2 separate regions of the Homo sapiens genome follow, and region 1 is linked to region 2. The links are contacts of gene promoters, found by promoter capture Hi-C in human tissues and cell types (Jung and others, 2019). All regions are on one chromosome and are shown on one strand. Each heading gives the region's core, a stretch centred on a gene start or on the middle of the fragment in contact. The rest is flanking DNA. Distances are from core to core; before and after follow the strand shown.

The links. Contacts are between HindIII fragments. The study calls those that stand out against the background at their distance.
Region 1: a contact is called between a fragment that was not itself captured here and the fragment with the promoter of C2orf15 in region 2, in 1 of the 25 tissues and cell types used here (dorsolateral prefrontal cortex).

What each region holds. Positions count from the first base shown.
Region 1 is chr2:98,473,440-98,479,367 of GRCh38, reverse strand. All of the region lies in intron 1 of INPP4A (inositol polyphosphate-4-phosphatase type I A), which reads right to left. Among named protein-coding and RNA genes, the nearest start is that of INPP4A, 32 kb to the right of the region's middle. The HindIII fragment of the contact is 4,957 bases long and covers 1,135-5,928 here.
Region 2 is chr2:99,137,783-99,144,127 of GRCh38, reverse strand. It overlaps C2orf15 (chromosome 2 open reading frame 15), which reads right to left and starts at 2,421. Exons shown (of 4, transcript NM_144706.4): 1 at 2,191-2,421; 2 at 1,727-1,843. All of the region lies in intron 1 of TSGA10 (testis specific 10), which reads left to right. RefSeq lists an enhancer at 1,684-2,490 and silencers at 2,712-3,021, 3,092-3,161. The HindIII fragment of the contact is 7,971 bases long and covers 1-6,345 here.

The DNA of each region.
Region 1 (5,928 bases), core at 2,364-4,863, 670 kb after region 2:
CTCAACTCATCAAAGTAGGGTAGCCTCGGGATATCTCACGAAGCACACACAGGAGAAGTTCCCACCCAAGGCACAGCAGATACCCCCCATCAGCACCACTGCAGCCAAATGGGGACAGGAGCACCTCCCCACACTTCTAAAATTAGAAGTGCCACCAATTAGCACCAAAATAAGTAGCCTAGTTTGGGGAAGGTGATAAAAATCAGCGAATAATATCTTGAGTGGGGAGTGGAACAGGAACAAGCACTCTAGGGCAACTGGAAGTGTGGTCTGTGAACTGGCAGTAGCAGTACCACCCAGGAGCCGGGAGGAAGTGCCCGACCTATGAAGGCTGACTCCCTGTGGGTAGGGCCCAGTATCTGCATTGAACAAGTCTTCTAGGTGACTGCTAGGCATTCAAGTTGGAGTAGCTATCTCTAGCCTGCCATCTTCGAAAGATGCCTGAAGACTTACACAATTATTTCCAGTTAAGTCCTAACAATCTACAAAAAAACCGGACCTCTTTCTTTTCAAAAAACAGAAAAATAGCACCACCACAGAAAGTCATGGGTGCGGGCTGCATTCATGCTCAGCTAGAACTGAATGCAGAGTAAGTCAGGACAGAATAGGACAGACACATACCTGCAACCTTCTCGGAAATCCATCACACCCTTCTACCCTCACCCCCTCAACCTTCCTACTCCCATTCACCCTATTCTCCCCAGCTGGGGCAGGGACCCTCTTCACAGCCACATTGGTAACCATCAAAAAGGTCAAAAGAGATCACCATGATTTGTTGCAAAGAAAGTCGGGGGAGGGAGTGCCCAGAGTTAACTCCACTAACTAGGGATCAGGGGTGTGCTCTGCCACCCCTACCCCCACAGCCCTGCCTCGCCTTGACTCTAACAGCAGCGCAGGTCTGGTGGAGAGGCACTCAGCTGGACTGCAAGGCTGGCTCAGCTTCTCACACCCTGGACCTCAGATCGGCAGAGAAGCCATCCAGGAACAGAGCCTTGTAAAAGCTCCCTGGACTTGGAGCAGTCCTGGTCCCAAGCGACAGGAATCCTCCTCTCTGGTGGCCACCTCCCTCATCAGTCATGACGAGGCCTCCACCAAGAGCAGGGCCTGCCTGAGGCTGTGCTCCTGGGTGGGAGGGAGGACACTGTGACTTAAACACAGTGTGGCTGAGAAAGAAAAAGGAAACACCCGCAAATTAAAGTGCGCTCTATTTTAGCTTTAAACACACATCCCTCCCACCTACGGCAGTGTCCAAAATAGCACATCCTATTTTAGGGAGATCAGAGGCAGTTCCTCAATAGGCTACAAAATAGACCTGGAGTTTGGAGACCAGCACCGCACAATAACAGTAGGTTGTAGGCCGCAGGGACTGCACTCGCACTGAATCCACCTCCCACTCCAGTCCCATTTTAAAGGCCAGAAGACCTAGGCCTCAAGAGCTAGCACGGCTGCTGGTGGTCCTCCTGACTCAAATTCTGCCCTCTCCATTTCCAATCCATGCCATGTGGCTCTCTTCCCACAGCAGGGCCCAGGCTGTCCACATTAGAGGGGCCCTTAGCCTCTCCTCCCTCATCCAACCGCTGTCTCCTGGGCAAGACCCACACAGGGCAGGGAGAGGTAAAAGGCAGGGTGAGGTAGAGGGAGAAAGCCTCTGTTCATCAGACTCCTGGACTCTGGGTTGAACAAGGATAGTCACTAACGGAGGGACTGAGACAGCCATGGTCTTGTTCACTCACAAAGAGAGAGCAGTTTCTACAAGACCAACGTTGACAGTTCCTGGAGATACAGGGCAGGAGAGAGGCAATCAACAGCCAAAATGGCCCAAGACTCGCCGACATTGAGGCTCTGGTTCATCCTCTGTTGTTAGGCTGTGGTCTGGTAACATGGTGTCCAAGTATCTCAGAGAAAGGCTGTAAAGCTGCCCCTAGAATCTGGAAACGGGTCAGGAACAGTCACTTGCTCAGTACTAGGACTCCCATGGCTATGGTTTCCCTACCAGGCAGGAAGACCAAGCTGTACCACCACACCATTCAGGACAAAGAGCCAAGAAGCGTGCCTGAAGCAGGCAGCTCAGGGAGACGGGACGGCGGGGGAGCTGCACACAGCATGCTGTGCATGGCCCCAGAGCCAGACCATCCGGGCTCCAACCCCAACTGCCGCTCACCCGCCACGCTACACGTCCCCAGGGAGAACTCATTTCACCTTCTGCTCCTCAGTCTCCTGCTCCTGAAATGGGTGTTACAGAATCATCTACTTCATGGGGTTACTGCAAGAATCAGATGACTTAATCCCTCTAAATGTGCCCAGTGCACAAAAATGCTACTTAAGTATTTGCCACTATTACTACTACCACTCCTGCTAAGCCCATCTGACAATCAGATACCCCAGAGGCTCTTCTAGCCATCCAGAAACAGGGGGATGGAGGCACTCAGGCCATGCCGCTGGATCAAGGACAGCAAGGAAGGGGCTGTGAGTACCCAGAGAACAGGGAACACTTATAACGGCAAACAAGGCCTTGAAGAAGGTTAATTACTGTTAAAAGTACAAACTTAACCCGCTATCGTCACAGGCCAGGAAGAGAACGGGCTGGAGGGCCCCATGAGAATTTCTGGAAGACAGGAAGGGAGGCAAGGCTATCTTGGCCATTCTCAGGTGATGGTGAATGAGGCAAACCACTGTGGAAACCATGAGCGCAGAGGGAGGTGGGCCCTGCTGGACACGCTTCAGAATGCCCATCACTCCCCTCTGAGCCAGGAGAGGTCTCCAGGAGCGCCACCCCTCCCCCAAGCAGGGCTCCTCCCCACACACACCCCAGGGCTGGGTCCCAGCACCCCAGCTGAGAGCCTCCCTGACTGTGGCTGGAGACCAGATACCTAAAGGGGGCTTGGTGAAGGAGAGCTCTTCCCCAGAGCGAGGGGCCCACCCTGGAGGAGAAAGTCCCTGCTCTGAGCTCCTGGGTGTGAACCCTCCCGAGGGACAGCAAACAGGGCCATTACTGCTCAAATGTGGAGCTTAGCATGTCTTAGTTTGACTGGGCATCCAGCCAGGCATTACTTTAATATACAACCCTAAAGCTTAGTCAAACTATCACTGGCTTGTGTGTCCTGGCAACACCTGGCCCTAAAACTGGGAATCACCTAGCACCAAATAAGAGAAATTAAAATTCCAGGAACAATCGAAACTCAAATTTTAAAAGTTTCTACAATGTGAATCTTCATTATCCTATGTACCCATTCTAATTAAATTCTTCAAAAAGTTTTGGGATGGTAAAAATTTCATGTGGCAAGTCTGACTCATTAAGGAGAAAAACATAGGCAAAATCACATTGCAAAGACTTGTTACCACAAAGCTATTTGGAGTTGATTTCAGTAAAATTCTGCATCAAATCTGGATTACCTGTGGGTGGATTAAACATTTGTAGATTAGCCTTGATAAAAAAATGAGAAGATAGTGCATTTGTGGAAAAAAATTTAAAATAAAAACCATTATAACAGCATTCCACACTGTTATTTAAAATTAGTGGCAGGCAAGGTGGACACACAGGCTCCCCCCGCCCCAGAGGCCCATCCCTGCCCACTATGGGTAGTACTGCTCCCCTCCTCCCAAAGCCCCCACCCCAGGTGAGAAAAGCAGGTAGAAGGGAGAGGGTGGCTGAACCCCAGCCCTGCCCACACAGCCCAGCATGCCCCAGCAAACAGCAGGAGACTACAACCATTGTTGGTCATGCAATGTAATACTGACGCCTAAAGCAAAAAAACAAAGTATCTGTAAATGTTCAATGTCCTGCTAAATTTTACAAGTAATTTCAGCCAGATTAAATGTATTTTGCACTATATTCTGACTACTTCTGTGTTACCCATAGTTTTGCTTTCCTCCAAGGCTTATGCTCCCTCTCCTACCTCATCTGTCATCCTGGTTGGTCAAGAGACAAATTTAAATAGCTGAGAAAGAAAGATGACCTCAGAACTTGAAACACCGCCCATGGGGTTTTAGAGGTCTCTCTTAATTTGTAAATCTAATGGGCTAATAACTCCCTGGCTTAAATCCCCTCTGTGGCTCTCGGCACACACAGAATGCAGCATGAAGTTGCACCCAGGATGGATCTCCTGGCCCTCCTCTGTCTCCCAAGCTTCCTAAGTACCACACTCACAAGCTGCTCCCGACAGCATCTCACAAGTGCCCTCTCTATGCCTTTGCTCAGCTGTCCGCTCCACTTAAGAGTGCCCCTCCTGTTCTTGTCTGCTTGACAATTTGTACTCATGCTACATGACCAATTTAAACAGCAATTTCCCTGTAAAGTTTCACCCACTTCCAGACAGAAATAAATACCCTCTGCTTATTGTGACATGGCCCTTTCTGTTGCCACAAAGAAAAAAAACTTCTGATACAGTGTACACCCTTGTCTCCTGTAGCTCCTTAGGAGAAGGGCCTAAGTCATCTTTAACTCTTCATCTTTAACAAAGCTGAGCCACTGCAGGAGCCCCAAATAAGCTTTTATTAAGTGATTAATTAAAAATAACTTTTGTATCCCCCAGGGCCCCAGATGGGTTTGGTGCATAAGAAAACTTATTTGAAGATGTTTTTATCCATGAAATAGAATTTTTTTAAAAAACACCAACCTGTAACTATGAAATTCCTGCACCTCACTTAGGCTGATGCTGATGGCAATCTGCAAAGAGAGGCTGCCAAATGTCAGGGTGATGGCACCCAGGTGAGATGGGTCTGCTGCCTCCCAGGGCATCAAGGTACAACAAAGGCCCAGGGCTAGGGCCAGAAGCCTGGTTTGGGTCTTGTCTGTCACTCACCAAGCAGGAGGGCCCGGGCAGGCCATTCACCTGCTCTGGCTCTCCCCATAATGCCTGTGGGGTGAGCGGCCATGTGGTGCCAGCGTGGGCTCATCCCACCCAGGGCTCTTCGTAGCACAGGTGGAACTGGATCTTTAAGATATTCCACATTATAGAGAAGACAACACAATAGAGCAAAAAGCAAGCTCCCAACCCCAACTACTTCAGAGATGTCCTTTTGTGTAAGAATCCTGCTTCAAAAAACAAAATCCACTCTTGGGCCTCACCAAGCACTGGGAAGGCTGCGGGTGGCCCTCGCCCACTGCACCATGGACACCAAAACCCACACACACAGGCCGCTCTTGAGGCTGTCAAAGTGATATTAGATACCACAAATGCAGAAAGGGAAAGAATGGGAGGCTGAAATCAAAACCAAAAGTGACTTCACAACCTGCATATACAGCTTTCCAAACAAGCTGCTCAAACGAATGCACACTCCAGAAGAAAGAGGGTATGAAAACGTCCATGTCTGTATATGGCAGACTGCCCCCGAAGGGCTCACAAAAATGCTGGGCAAACTGCTTGCCTCTGGGGAGAGGAACTGGAAGGCAAAGTGGGAGAGGTGATTCTTCTCGATATATCACTTTGTAATTTTTGAATGAGACCAAAGGTAATACCTTCATAGCATGTAATTATGTGAGATATGTAATGCCCTCAAACAGAAGTTATGAAAATGTCCCACAGTAAATAAACTTATCTTCCCCAATCACATGTATTACCTTTCCAACATGTTTTCATGCAATCACCTGGTGAAGTGGAAAATCAAGATACTAAAGGCCTGGATCCACTTTTTAATGCTGTGTGACCCTGGGTGCCATCCGCCCACCCACCAAGACTCCAGAGGTAGCAACCGGCTTATGGTCACCATCTGGCCCGGGTGAGGTCACTCACTGAGTGGCACCTCCTGAGAGGCCCTGACCACATTGTAACCCATCATGGCCAGTGCCCAGAGTAAGGAGGGGAAGCAGGTGGCCCACCACACGGTGTCAGCCCCTCTACACTGCACCTACACTGCCCTCCACACTCTCAACTGCACCCACACTGCCCTCAACACTCTCCACTGTCCCCACACTGTCCTCCTCACTCT
Region 2 (6,345 bases), core at 1,172-3,671:
AATGGCGTGAAGCCGCGAGGCAGAGCTTCCAGTGAGCGGAGATCGCGCCACTGCACTCCAGCCTGGGAGACAAAGCGAGACTCCATCTCAAAAAAACAAACAAAAAAAAGGAACACAGCATCAGTGAGCTGTGGAACAAGATCAAGTGGCTTAACACATATGGAATTGGAGTCCCAGATTTTTTTTTGAGGGGATCAGGAAGAGGACAGTGAAAACAAAACAAAAAATAGTAATAACAGAGGTTTTTGTAGTGAAGCTTTTGAAATGATGGAAAAATTAAGGGACTAGAAAACCAAGACCTTAGAAGGTGTCTGTCACGAGAGAGCAAGCACAGGGTACTATATAAGGCTTAGCCTGGGCCAGGCACAGTGGCTCATGCATATAATCCCAGCACTTGGGATGCTGAGGTGGGTGGATCACTTGAGTCCAGGAGTTCAAGACCAGCCTGGGCAACATGGTGAAACCGCATCTCTACAAAAACATACAAAAATTAGCTGGGCATGGTGGCACATACCTGTGGTCCCAGCTACTCAAGGGGCTAAGGCAGGAGAACTGCTTCAACCTGAAAGGTGGAGGGTGCAGTGAGCTGAGATCATGCCAACGCACTCCAGCCTGGGTACAGGGCAACAGAGTGAGACTCTGTCTTAAAAAAAAGGAAAAAAAAAAAAAGTCTGGGCGCAGTGGCTCACACCTGTAATCCCAGCACTTTGGGAGGCTGAGGCGGGTGGATCATGAGGTCAGGAGATCAAGACCATCCTGGCTAACACAGTGAAACCCTGTCTCTACTAAAAATACAAAAAACAAAAAACAAACAAAAAAAAAGCTGGGCGTAGTAGTGGGCGCCTGTAGTCCTAGCTACTTGGGAGGCTGAGGCAGGAGAATGGCATGAACCCGGGAGGCGGAGGTTGCAGTGAGCCGAGATCGTGCCACTGCACTCCAGCCTGGGCGACAGAGTGAGACTCTGTCTCAAAAAAAAAAAAAAAAAAAAAAAAAAGGTTTAGTTGGGGCAGGGTGGGACACTCACTACCCCTTGGGTTTCCACAGAGGGAAGGAAATTTTTACTTTCTCAGGTTAGGGGAGAAAGTCAACAGTTCTTGATAGGAAAAAAAAGGAAAATCTTTTCACCCTCTTTTGGCCTTAAAATGATCATTTCCTTATATTCTTTCCAAATAATCTTCAGTACCGTCTAGGTGGCATACATAAGTGCTTAAACTTTTCTTATTCTTTCTATAAGGGAAGTACTTTCCTACTTCCTATATTAATAATCTCCCCACCCCCGAAGTCTTCAACTCCAGCTGATAGTTTTAAACTTAGAACATTCTTTCCTATTTGTTTTTAATAATGCTAGATAATGTATTCAAAATAATCTTAGTATCTGAAGAGGAAATGAGATTATACATTATTCCCTCTAACATAACTTCTCAGTTTGTTATTTTGTGCATTTAAAAAATTACATTTCCGAGGATATGTGCTCCTTGTGTCCTCTAACCTCTTAATCTAAAATAACAGGGACACTTAATTTTTTTTGGTATCTAATTATACTTACAAAGTATATGATATCTGAAAATAAATGCGACAAAATATGAGACCATGTAATAACACGATGAAAAGACATTGGAAAAACATGGCATTTATATTAAATGTATTTTTATGACTAAATTTGTTCTACACAAAAGTTGTTTATCCCTGCCAATGATATCTTGTGGGGGGAAAAATGAGTACTCACCTGGCGAAAACAGGAATTGTTAGTCTCCTCAAACGAGAGCTTACTCTTGAAATACACAGCGTTCTACCATATCAAGGTCATCAGAGAATTGCTGTAAAAACCTAGTGTCTATGTCATCTGCAGGAAAAGGAGATAAAGTCACCATTATCATCCAGAAGCTCTTGAGTTATTTAAGAAGGGACATGGTAGGTATTAAGAAAAATTAAGAAGACTTTTTTCCCCCCCATTCTGGGCTCCAAAAAATTGGTAGAAGAATGCAGCGCTCATTCTTTTTCACTAAAAAGCTCATTTGTCACTTTAAGGTGAGGGGATTTGGAAAAGGACTGGCATGTGGAGAAGGAATATCGGTCAGGAATCTGGACTTTGTTGCTAGATCTGCCACTTCCTGATTCAGCCCTGATCGTGCAGAGCTGACCAAGGCCGTGGTCCCCAGGCTCCCCTGACTCCAGGCTGCCCACGCTCACCGGGACAGGCCGGCTCGCTCCCTGCAGGCTGCAGCGGGAGGGCTGGACCTGGAAGCCTCTCTTAAAACGGGCCCTGGCTGCAGCAGGAGCTGCGCCCGAAAGCAGCTCTGAGAGTAACCGGTTCACCGAACATGGGTCCAGAATGATGCCCAAGCCCTGGGAAAAGTGGCACAAAGCCACCGCCGCGAAGCAGCAGGTGTTTCAAGCTGAGGGAAGGCGGGGCTGCGAGAGACAGCCTTGCGCATGCGCGTTCCATCCAGGTGCGGCAGCCTCAGGCAGAGATTAAGAAATGAGTCGTGGAAAAGGGGGCTAGCGGCTGGTTACTAGGAGACGGGACGCTCGGCTCGGGCGTCTAGGCGCTGCGTGGGCGTGCGCCTGCGCGGCGCGGATGGGCCAGGAAGGGGTCCCTCCTAGGTGCCCTGTAAGGCAGGCAGGTAGACGTACGCGTCGCTCCGTGCGTAGGAGCGCGCGCACGGCTTGTAGACCCCGCGAGAAGGAAGGTCGAGCCAGGTACGCGTGCGCACCGGGCCTGGGGGCGAGCGGGACGGAAGCAAAGCTGGGGCGCCGGGGAGGTGGAAGACGAGCCCCACTCCGGTACAGAGCGTGAGGGCGGGGCCACGGCGGCACTGGCTGGCGCTAACCGCCCCCTCCTCCTTCCCGCGGGCTCCGTCCTTCCTCCGATCCGCCGGGGCGGGGCCAGGACGATTTGGGGGTGGGAAGGGAGGAGAAAGGGGCGGAGGATGGAGAGTGGGCGGTTCTTGTATCCCCCGCTGAGGCCGAGAGCTGACAGTCGCGGGGATGAGCTCTGGGCAGGACGGCGGGCCGAGGAGCCCGGGGAGGGACCCGGAGCTCCAGGTAGAAGCTGCGGAGGTGCGCGGGGTGGGGAGAGTGCTGCTACTGGACTGGAAGGTCTCTGAGAAGGCGGCTGCAAGCGGGCAGGAGTGGCGGGTGCGGGGCCGTGGCGGGCGGAGTTGGGCGCTAGCAGCGGGAGCGGCTGTGAGGGGCAGCGGCGGGCACAGCTGCCGGCCGGAAGCTCGGCAGCACGAGTTGCCCCTGTTTCTTGGGAGGTTAGGTTTGAGCCCAGTTCCTATGGTCACTGCTTCGCGTCCTCCCGCAGCTCTCCGCTTGGTTGTTGGGGAGACTGTTCAGTTTAGAAACGCTCTGGAAGCTCTGGTGGAGCCGAGGAATTTGGAAGTCACAGATTTGGGAGTTCAGCCTGACTCCCGATCGCTCATTTCTGAGCCTCTTTCTAGACTTGGGGTGGTGAAAGGCTGAGATTACATAGGCATTTGCATGAAAATCTCAGATAATTTTAGTAAAAATTATACACAGTAAAGGCAGGGAAAGCTGGCTTTTGTTGAAAAACTATTTGAGACTTAAATTGGATAACTAGGTGATCATGGACTTGATACCTAAAAACTCACAGAAATATGGTTTTTTTTCACTTTTTTTTTTTCGCAGCTTCGGGAAAGTTTGCATAGATTATAGTGTCCCAACGTTTTCCTTCTTCCATTCCAGGACCTTATATCCTAGGAGATTTCCTTGTTTAAAATTTTCTGTACTGGTGTTCAGCATTTCAAGTATACTTTGTTTACGTGTAAGGACATAAGTAGAATAACAATAGGTTTGTAAGTAGAAAAAAACAGGTTAGTTATAGAAGTAGGATGTCGCATTCGAATCTGCTTCCAGGATAAGACAGATTCTTGTTTGTATTTTAATTGATTAATGAGCCAAACTCTTCAGTCTTAATTAGTGGGAAATAACTAGGACGGTACATTAATTAAATATTAATTTTAAATCCTAAACTTTGGCATTATTTAATGGCAGCTTCCACAATATCTCGCGTACTGTTTACCTTCTGAAGAAAAATCACTGCCTGTAGCCCAGAATATAATCAGGTGTAGAGATTCTCTGGGAGATCTTTTCTGTCTTCTTTTTGAGTTGCTTAGACTAGTTTGTTTAGGACGATTTGGTTTTGAAGTCCTCCATACACAGAGGCAGTTAGAGGTATTACTATTTATCACCTTTTCAGATTACATATTTCTTTCCCTCCCCAGAGATAGCCACTCTCCTGACTTCTAAGATAGCCACTTCCTTGATTTTCCTTAATGTTTCACATCATTGTATGTGAACATGCACATTACAGTTTGGCTTGTTTTTGAACTTCGAATGGAATTGTACTAAGTATTCATTTACATCTTGCTTCTTTACTCAACATTTTTTTTAAGATTAATCTTTATTGTTGCTCGCAGTATTTAGTTTGCTGATTGTTTCCCAAAATATTTATCCACTTATTTTTATTATATAAAATACTCTCTCAGAATTATTCATAAATCTTGTATGGTTTTCCACATCCTTCTGTTAGTGAGGCAGTTCCTTTCTACTTCAATGTCTATAAGTCTACACTTTTGGAGACAATATTTTTAAAAAGAAAAACCCACCTCAACTGTAGTAAGCTTTTGTGGAACCAGATTTCAGAATTCCATTGAAGTACTCCAGTATTTTCCATTCTATCAAAAAATCAATAATTTGTTGAATACATATTATGTGCTTCATATTTTGCTCAACACCGATGATACTTTTTATTATATAATCTTAGCTCCTGTTTCACTGAAAAATTAAAATTCAACCAGACAGAAACTTCCTCAGATTTCCATGACACTTACCTTTTTTTTTTGAGACATGATCTCACTGTCGCTCAGGCTGGAGTGCAGTGGTGCGATCATGACTCATTGCAGCCTTGACCTCCCGGGCTCAAGTGATTCTCCTATCTCAGCCTCCCAAGTAGCTGGGACCACAGGTGGATGCCACTATGCCTGGCTAATTTATTTTTTAATTTTTGTAGATACAGGAACTCACTATGTTGTCCAGGCTGGTCTCAAATTCCTGGGCTCAAGTGATCCTCTGGCCTTGGCCTCCCAAAGTGTTGGGATTATTGGGATTACAAGTGTCTAAATCTTCACCTGTCCTTGCTTTTGTCTTTCTTGTGTCGGGGCAATACATCTTTATCTGGGTTTCCTCTTATTACCTCAGCTGTCTTTCTCCATCAATTAACATTAACTCATGCCTTAGGAATCTTCATTGTTTCTGTACTGTAGGGCTTCTTCACCTGGAGTCCAAGGACCTTATAGAGTCTTAAATCCCCTGAAATTGTTTGTAAAGGTGTATTTGCATTTTTCTGAGGAGAGGATGCAGGACTTTTAATTCTGAAAGAGGATCCTTATGTAAAGAGAATTAAGGAACAAGTTTTTCTCTTCCCATAATGACGTTTCCACAACCTTGGTTGTCTTCCACCTTTGTTGTACCTCTCTTCCTCTCACAATCATGCTTCCTAAAAGAAGTTTACATTTTCCATTTCTTTTTCTTTACTATTCATTCATTAGTCCCCTTCAGACTTGTTTTCACCCACCATTGAAACTGCTTTGTTCGAATCATTAAATTTTCTTATTTTGAAAATGTTTTATTGCGTTTCACCTTTGTGCTGGGCACTTTTAAGGCATTAGGGATAAAACAGAGACAAGACAAAAGCCTAGAGCTCTTGAATTTTATATTCTAGTATGGGGAGATAGTAAACAAGTCAGCAAATGATATAATTTCAAGTAGTGATAAGTGCAAATAGCTTATCACTTATTTGAGAGAGTGACTAGGAGAGAGGCTACTTTAGGTAAGAAGTCAGGGAAGACCCTCTGACATTTCAGCCAAAGAGCTGAGGGTGAGAAGATAGCCATGTGAAAGGCTGGGTAGAAAGTGTTCCTGAGAGAGGAAAAGCAAGAGCAGAGGACCTGAAGTCAAATGTTACTGGCAAATATCTTAGTCCATTCAGGCTGCTATAATGAAATAACATATAAGCAACAGAAATTTAATTCTTACAGTTCTGGAGACTGGGAATTCTAAGATCCAAGTTGCCAGCAGAATCAATGTCTGAGGTTTTTTGGTTCATAGATGGTACCTTCAGACTCTGTCCTCATATGTTAGAAGGGGCAAGGGAGCTCTCTGGGGCCTATTATATACAGGCAACTCATCATGGCTGTGCCTTTTTTTTTTTTTTTTTGACATGGAGTCTCACTCTGTTGCCCAGGCTGGAGTGCAGTGACACGATCTCGGCTCACTGCAATAAATCCCTTCTAATTTATTAGCAAATGTTGTTGGTTCAAA